Regions from separate parts of the Homo sapiens genome. Here region 2 is linked to region 1. Evidence: promoter capture Hi-C in 16 types of primary human blood cells and fetal thymus (Javierre and others, 2016). All regions are on one chromosome and are shown on one strand. The core of a region is centred on a gene start or on the middle of the fragment in contact, and the rest is flanking DNA. Distances in the headings are between cores, read along the strand shown. Region 1 holds the start of EYA3 (EYA transcriptional coactivator and phosphatase 3). Region 2 has its middle 17 kb from the start of THEMIS2.

Region 1 (3,966 bases), core at 1,135-3,634:
TTTTTTTTTTAAGAGAGTCTCACTCTGTTGCCTTGTGGAGCGCAGTGATGTGATCACAGCTCACTGTAACCTCAAAATCTTGGGCTCAAGCAATCCTCCAACCTCAACCTCCTGAGTAGTTGGGACTACAGGCGCACACCACTACACCAAGCTAATTTTGTCTATGTTGCCCAGGTTGGTCTCGAACTCCTGGCCAATCCTCTGGCCTTGGCCTTCCAAAGTGCTGGGGATTATAGGTGTGAACCACCATGCCAGACCTAAACCCTAATTTCTTTATGTTTTGTAAATAAGAGTGCCACTTCTTACTAGTGACAATGGTATATAATCTTTATAACTAGATTTTATTATTTTCTATTGTTTTGAAGACAGAGTGATTTCCCATCATTTTTGGGGTTTAATGTTCTTATCTTAATCTGCATTAATTAAGCTGGCATTCCCATGGCTTAAATGAAGCCCACAAACCTGAAGGTAAGGAAGCAGCTGGAGTAAGCCATACACATTGGGGTTTGTTTTGAAGGATGGAAAATAGGCCAGGTTGGACAGAAGCTAGAGCTAGGTAGTGGGGAGGAGGTACACATAAGAAACTTTCAAAGAGGCTTCACTTAGCAGTTAGATAAGTCCTGAAAGCCAATCAGAAGGGTCCTTCTCCGTGGCTTCTAGGACTAACATGGCCAAGCTCCAAAGTCCTTTGCTAAAAACAGCTGAAGAGAGCCCAATTTTGGAATAAGCCAAGGACTATACACTCTTATATGTATATGTATCATATAATGAAGATTTTTCTATAGCTAATTAGCCAAAAGATAAGCAGGTGCTCAAAGCTGTATTTAAGTTCATACTGAAGTACTACATTTTAAAGCACAATTTATAGATTACAGAAACTGATGACACAAAAACCGCTGCAATCAAGTGCTAGATATACACTATAAACATCGGGAAAAAATAAAGATTACCCAAGCCTATACTCTAGATCACAAAATTTGGGAAAGGGAGCACTAACCATTATTAAATGCAATTCCTTCATGTTATAAATGACTTTAAACCTCTAGGGAAATTTAAGAAAGGTGCCCTAAATCTCAAAATGAGAAAATGATAGTTTTACTACAAAGGTGGAAATGGTAAGGAAAAAAAAATACAAAAGTTAGAAGAATATTCTAAGTAATGTACTTCTAAGTAATGTAATTCTAAGTAAAGTCTGGCTAATGAAGGAAGAGGAAGACAAATAGAAAACTTAATACAGTAAAAATGAAAAAATGCATATGTGCATACTAAGTTTAAAGATTACTTTGAAATTACTATAGTGAACTCTTCAGCAGACCACTTTTCGGAAACAACACAATAAATTCATAAATCTGGGGCTAATGATCTCTCCACAAATTCTGTCCTCTATCATCACAAGTGTCCTGTAAGAAGCGTCCATGCCGAAAACAGAGCTGAACGTCCCAAAATATTGGCGTTTTTGCCTCAGCTGTGCACATCCATTCTCATGGGAACACAAAACTGACAGAACTTCTTCATGACTTGTCAATTAACAAGATCGCGCCAGCCCAACTGCTAGCAGTACCGTGTGCCTGCCACCTGTTAGCTGCTCTTGAGAGAGCCCCAAAACTGAGGTAAAGCGAAGAACTAGGAACGCCTTTGTTGTACCCTAACTATGGAAGCTACCAGAGTTCAGTCTAACCCGGCGCCTTAAGGCAAAACTTCCCCCAGGCTGGGGAAGTCTTCCCATTTCGGGGCTTTGGCAAAGCTCTCCTCTAGCTAAGGACAGGCAGAAGAACCCCAGGAGAAGCACTGTCACCTACTGGTCCCAGGAGGAAGGATCAAAGCTGAAGAAAGTTGGGGGACAAGGAACTAGGACCCTAGGGAGAGGCTCAGTTTCTCGTGGTGAAGAGTGAGCACAATGAGAAGCTGGGCCGTCTCGCTAGGTGAAAGAACGCTGAGATCCCAGATCAGGGGTAGGGGAAAAGAGGTTCTAAAAGAAGGGAGGAGGAGAAAAAAGGAGAGGCAGTGGCTGAGAGAAGCGCTGAGGCGTAAGGCAAGAAACCGAGGTTGGAAAAGGACTGATGAGGCTGAGGAAAAACAGCGAGGCGACAGAGGCACGGAAGCGCGAGAAGGCTAAGCTGAGGTGAATAAGGCGAGGCCAGCGTGAAGGAAAGGGCTGAGGTGAGTGAAGCACTGCAGTGACAAGGGACAGGCGAAGAGACTCCCACCCACAAGGACCGAGGCAGAACTCTAGACCCATCCCCCTTCACGCTGTGCTCGCCCGGCTGCGCTCAGACCCTGTTGGCAGCTGAGACTCACCCAAAGGCTGTAAAAGCCCCACAACAGGACATGGAGATCAGTCCAGACCCACAGTAGAACCAATCGAGCGGAGGAAACCGCGGCGTTAGCGTGACCCGGATGCGCATCGCTAGGAACCGGAAGTAAGCGGCCAGAGTCACCTCACAATCCACACCTCGTTCCACTAGAAACCTCTGGGCGCATGTGTTGAGTCTGACCGGGCGGGGAAGCTTTTAGGCTCCGCCCACTCCGCCGGCCCGGCGAGCCACGCCCATGGCCACGCCCCTCTTAGTGCCTCGGAGACAAGCAGCTTCTGGGTGAGCGCTAGGCAGTCCTGACGGTACTACAGCCTTCACTTTTAAGGAGGTCTTTAAAAATGCGCGTAATCCCTACCTGGCTAAAAGGAACGTAAGAAGTGTTGGGTGCATTTGGTAGATTTAGAAAAACTGGGAAGGAGAATGAGTGGGAAGTTTTGGAAGACATTTGGGAGGCTAGCCCAAGGTGATCTTTTTTTTTTTTTTTTTTTGAGACGGAGTTTCGCTCTTGTTGCCCAGGCTGGAGTGCAATGGCGCGATCTCGGCTCACTGCAACCTCCGCCTCCCGGGTTCAAGCGATCCTCCTGCCTCAGCCTTTCGAGTAGCTGGGATTACAGGCATGTGCCACCACGCCCGGCTAATTTTGTAGTTTTAGTAGAGACGGGGTTTCTCCATGTTGGTCAGGCTGGTCTTGAACTCCCGACCTCAGGTGATCCGCCCGCCTGGGCCTCCCAAAGTGCTGAGATTACAGGCGTGAGCCACCGCGCCCATCCCTTTTTTTTTTTCTTTTTTTGAGACAGAGTCTTGCTCTGTCGCCCAGGCTGGAGTGCAGTGGCGCGATCTCGGCTCACTGCAACCCCCGCCTCCTGGGTTCAAGTGATCCTCCCACCTCAGCCTCCCGAGTAGCTAAGACTACCGGCGCGCACCACCACGCCCGGCTAATTTTTGTATTTTTCGGTAGAGACGGGGTTTCGCCATGTTGCCCAGGCTGGTCTCCAACTCTGGAGCTCGGTTGATCCCTTGGCCTCCCAAAGTGCTGGGATTACAGGCGTGAGCCCCAAGGTGATCTTTTTATCCCCAAATTTAGTTTATTCTTAATATTATATTAGGCTTACAATTCACTTCGTGCACACTGTTTTCGGAAGCAAAATTCTTAAATGTTTCGTTAATTTTAAATTACAACCCAAGTATGGGCTAGAAGCAAGGTTGAATTCAGGCTTTGTGGAGACTTGACGTTTATTCAATTTGGGGGCCCTCTTTAAAATAATCAAGGCCAGGCACAGTGGCTCATGCCTGAAATCCTAGCACTTTGGGACGCCGAGGTCGACCGGTTGCTTGAGCCCCGGAGTTGGAGATCACCTGGGCAACAAAATTAGACCCTGTCTCTACAAAACAAACAAAGCAAAACAACAACAAAAAAAACCCAGAAAAATTAGCCAGGTGTGGTGGCACGCACCTAACTGAGCCCAGGAGGTAGAGGCTGCGGTGAGTTATGATTATGCCACTGCACTCCAGCCTGGGCAACAGAGCGAGACTGTCTAAAAAAAAAAAAAATCCAAAATTACAAATACAATATTAGATATAAAAGTGAACCTTTTATAATGAGAAAAATTACAAACATTTTTATTAGCTCACAAATACCACGAATAACAAA
Region 2 (4,224 bases), core at 129-2,628, 230 kb before region 1:
CAGCCCCCCGCCCGGCCAGCCGCCTCATCCGGGAGGGAGGTGGGGGGTCAGCCCCCCCGCCCGGCCAGCCGTGCCGTCCAGGAGGGAGGTGGGGGGGTCAGCCCCCCGCCCGGCCAGCCGCCCCGTCCGGGAGGTGAGGGGCGCCTCTGCCCGGCCGCCCCTACTGGGAAGTGAGGAGCCCCTCAGCCCGGCCAGCCACCCCGTCCGGGAGGGAGATGGGGGGGTCAGCCCCCCCACCCGGCCAGCCGCCCCGTCCGGGAGGGAGGTGGGGGGGTCAGCCCCCCGCCTGGCCAGCCGCCCCGTCCAGGAGGGAGGTGGGGGGGTCAGCGCCCCGCCCGGCCAGCCGCCCCGTCTGGGAGGTGAGGGGTGCCTCTGCCCGGCCGCCCCTACTGGGAAGTGAGGAGCCCCTCTGCCCGGCCAGCCGCCCCATCCGGGAGGGAGGTGGGGGGGTCAGCCCCCCCGCCCGGCCAGCCGCCCTGTCCGGGAGGGAGGTGGGGGGGTCAGCCCTCCGCCCGGCCAGCCGCCCCGTCTGGGAGTTGAGGGGCGCCTCTGCCCGGCCGCCCCTACTGGGAAGTGAGGAGCCCCTCTGCCCGGCCAGCCGCCCCGTCCGGGAGGGAGGTGGGGGGGTCGGCCCCCCGCCCGGCCAGCCGCCCCATCCGGGAGGGAGGTGGGGGGGTCAGCCCCCCGCCCGGCCAGCTGCCCTGTCCAGGAGGGAGGTGGGGGTGTCAGCCCCACGCCCGGCCAGCCGCCTCGTCCGGGAGGGAGGTGGGGGGGTCAGCCCCACGCCCGGCCAGCCGCCTCGTCCGGGAGGGAGGTGGGGGGGTCAGCCCCCCCGCCCGGCCAGCCGCCCTGTCCGGGAGGGAGGTGGGGGGGTCAGCCCCACGCCCGGCCAGCCGCCTCGTCCGGGAGGGAGGTGGGGGGGTCAGCCCCCCCGCCCGGCCAGCCGCCTCGTCCGGGAGGGAGGTGGGGGGGTCAGCCCCACGCCCGGCCAGCCGCCTCGTCCGGGAGGGAGGTGGGGGGGTCAGCCCCCCCGCCCGGCCAGCCGCCCTGTCCGGGAGGGAGGTGGGGGGGTCAGCCCTCCGCCCGGCCAGCCGCCCCGTCTGGGAGTTGAGGGGCGCCTCTGCCCGGCCGCCCCTACTGGGAAGTGAGGAGCCCCTCTGCCCGGCCAGCCGCCCCGTCCGGGAGGGAGGTGGGGGGGTCGGCCCCCCGCCCGGCCAGCCGCCCCATCCGGGAGGGAGGTGGGGGGGTCAGCCCCCCGCCCGGCCAGCTGCCCTGTCCAGGAGGGAGGTGGGGGTGTCAGCCCCACGCCCGGCCAGCCGCCTCGTCCGGGAGGGAGGTGGGGGGGTCAGCCCCCCACCCAGCCAGCCGCCCCGTCCGGGAGGGAGGTGGGGGGGGTCAGCCCCCCTGCCCGGCCAGTGGCCCCGTCCGGGAGGTGAGGGGCGCCTCTGCCCGGCCGCCCCTACTGGGAAGTGAGGAGCCCCTCTGCCCGGCCAGCCGCCCCGTCCGGGAGGGAGGTGGGGGTGGTCAGCCCCCCCCGCCCGGCCAGCCGCCCCGTCCGGGAGGTGAGGGGCGCCTCTGCCCAGCCACCACCCCGTCTGGGAGGTGTGCCCAACAGCTCATTGAGAACGGGCCAGGATGACAATGGCGGCTTTGTGGAATAGAAAGGCGGGAAAGGCGGGGAAAAGATTGAGAAATCGGATGGTTGCCGTGTCTGTGTAGAAAGAAGTAGACATGGGAGACTTTTCATTTTGTTCTGCACTAAGAAAAATTCCTCTGTCTTGGGATCCTGTTGATCTGTGACCTTACCCCCAACCCTGTGCTCTCTGAAACATGTGCTGTGTCCACTCAGGGTTAAATGGATTAAGGGCGGTGCAAGATGTGCTTTGTTAAACAGATGCTTGAAGGCAGCATGCTCGTTAAGAGTCATCACCAATCCCTAATCTCAAGTAATCAGGGACACAAACACTGCGGAAGGCCGCAGGGTCCTCTGCCTAGGAAAACCAGAGACCTTTGTTCACTTGTTTATCTGCTGACCTTCCCTCCACTATTGTCCCATGACCCTGCCAAATCCCCCTCTGTGAGAAACACCCAAGAATTATCAATAAAAAAATAAATTAAAAAAAAAAAAAAAAAAATGAGTGTCCTCATCAGGACAATACCTTCCTCTCGTTTTAGTGAAGATGGTACTGTTGGTAGTGGTGAACAATCACTAAGCACCTGCCTACCTACCTACCATGTATCCATTTACAGCACGTCATCTAATTCTCATAGCCCCAAGAGGAATTCTGTTTTTATCCCCATTTTATAGATGAGAAAACTGAGACTGAGACTAAACAAACTTCCCTATGAGCCCCCTGTACTGAAGACAGGATTGAAACTCTAGTCTGAATCCAGAGTTTAAGGTGGGGATATGCTTGGTCCATAGGTGGCACACCCTTTAGTTTTTGTATTTTTAGTGGAGACGGGGTTTCACCATGTTGGCCGGGCTGGTCTCGAACTTCGGCCCTCAGGTGATCCAACTGCCTTGGCCTCCCAGAGTGCTGGGATTACAGGCGTGAGCCACCGAGTCTGGCCTGTTTTGTAGTTCTTTAAAAGATGTCCAAACTGAACAACTTACTGGAAGTGTGTTAAAGTATGTTAGATATAGCTGAGATGAAGTCCTTCCTGATGAGAAGGTTATGCCATGCATTTTTTTTCTTTTTCTTTTTTTTTTTTTTTGAGACAGAGTCTTGCTCTGTCACCCAGGCTGGAGCACAGTGGCACGGTCTCGACTCACTGCAACCTCCGCCTCCCAGGTTCAAGCAATTCTCCTGCCTCAGCCTCCTAAGTACCTGGGATTACAGGTACGCACCACCACGTCTGGCTAATTTTTGTATTTTTAGTAGAGATGGGGTTTCACTGTATTGGCCAGGCTGGTCTTAAACTCCTGACCTCGTGATCCGCCTGCGTCGGCCTCCCAAAGTGCTGGGATTACAGGCGTGAGCCACTGAGCCACCATGCATTCTTGCTTTCAGAATCTGAGTTGCAGAGTGAAACTTGGATTGGCATTTCAAAGAAGGCACAACAGAATATACATACCTGCAAGGATTTTTTTTTTTTTTTTTTTTTTTTTTTTGAGACAAAAGTCTCACTCTGTCCCCCAGGCTGAAGTGCAGTGGTGCGATCTCGGCTCACTGCAACCTCCGCTTCCTGGTTCAAGCGACTCTCCTGCCTCAACCTCCCGAGTAGCTGGGACTACAGGCACCAGCCACCATGCCCAGCTAATTTTTGTGTTTTTAGTAGAGGTGGGGTTTTGCCATGTTGGCCAGGCTGGTCTCAAACTCCTGACCTCAGGTGATCTGCCTGCCTCAGCCTCCCAAAGTGCTGGGATTACAGGCGTGAGCCATGGCCCCCGGCTGATATTTCATGTACTTTAAGGGCCCGGTTAAGCGGAAGCAGAACTGGGGAGGCATGTATGTGTGGAAACCTGGCTTAGCTGGCGCCATACTTCTGATTCCAATTATGTTTTAGGTGCCCTCAGAGATGAGCACTCCAAGATGGGGCTCAACTGCCTGTTACCCTAATTAGCTCTGGATGACAATACAGATGGATGAGCCCCTTCTGTTCACTCCCAGGATCAGCAGTGGCCTCATACTCATGTGAGCACAGTGCTGCTGAGGGACACAGCCTGTCCCTATCTTGGGACACAGGCCCACCCCGGATGAGAATTGACTGCTGGTTTCCCCGAAATCCTGTGCCTACTGGTGGGCCACCTGCTGAGAAGGGAAGGGAGACCCATGTTCCCCTCCCCGGGGGGGAGACGGTGGCAAATCCTGTGGAGAAAGACATCTACTGACTGAACGGCCCGTTCCCCAGGGGATCCTGGCCCAGGATCAGCTGTTTGATGACCGTTTGCCTAAAATATGCCCACTACTAAATATAGGTCAGAATTTCAGAGTCAAAAGAGACCTGGGAGGTTCTGTCTAGACCCTTCATTTTGCAAATGAGCAAACTATGGCAGTGAGGACTTGCTTCATTCAACTTGGATGGATCAGACGTCTATGACTTGGGCCTATGGAAGTGCACCACCCCTGCTACCCCAGCTACTACAAGAGGCTCACCTAGAGGGAGACAGCCAGGCACTCAGATGCTGTCTAGACCCTTGACAGCTCGAGTGGAAGGATGGAGCCGGCGAGAATAGCAATAGGAATTTATTACCTGAGGCATGTGGACCATGGTTTTCCC

Evidence for each region. The method cuts DNA at HindIII sites, captures the fragments that hold promoters and counts their contacts. A CHiCAGO score of 5 or more calls a contact.
Region 2: a fragment that was not itself captured here is called in contact with the fragment with the promoter of EYA3 in region 1 in 6 of 17 cell types (endothelial precursors, M0 macrophages, M2 macrophages and 3 more); the score reaches 12.4 in endothelial precursors.

Annotation. Positions count from the first base shown.
Region 1 is chr1:28,086,226-28,090,191 of GRCh38, forward strand. EYA3 (EYA transcriptional coactivator and phosphatase 3) reads right to left here and starts at 2,385. Exons shown (of 18, transcript NM_001990.4): 1 at 2,299-2,385. RefSeq lists enhancers at 1,985-2,044, 2,255-2,324. The HindIII fragment of the contact is 6,678 bases long and covers 1-2,505 here.
Region 2 is chr1:27,852,978-27,857,201 of GRCh38, forward strand. No RefSeq gene overlaps it. Among named protein-coding and RNA genes, the nearest start is that of THEMIS2, 17 kb to the right of the region's middle. RefSeq lists an enhancer at 3,561-3,855. The HindIII fragment of the contact is 5,873 bases long and covers 1-4,224 here.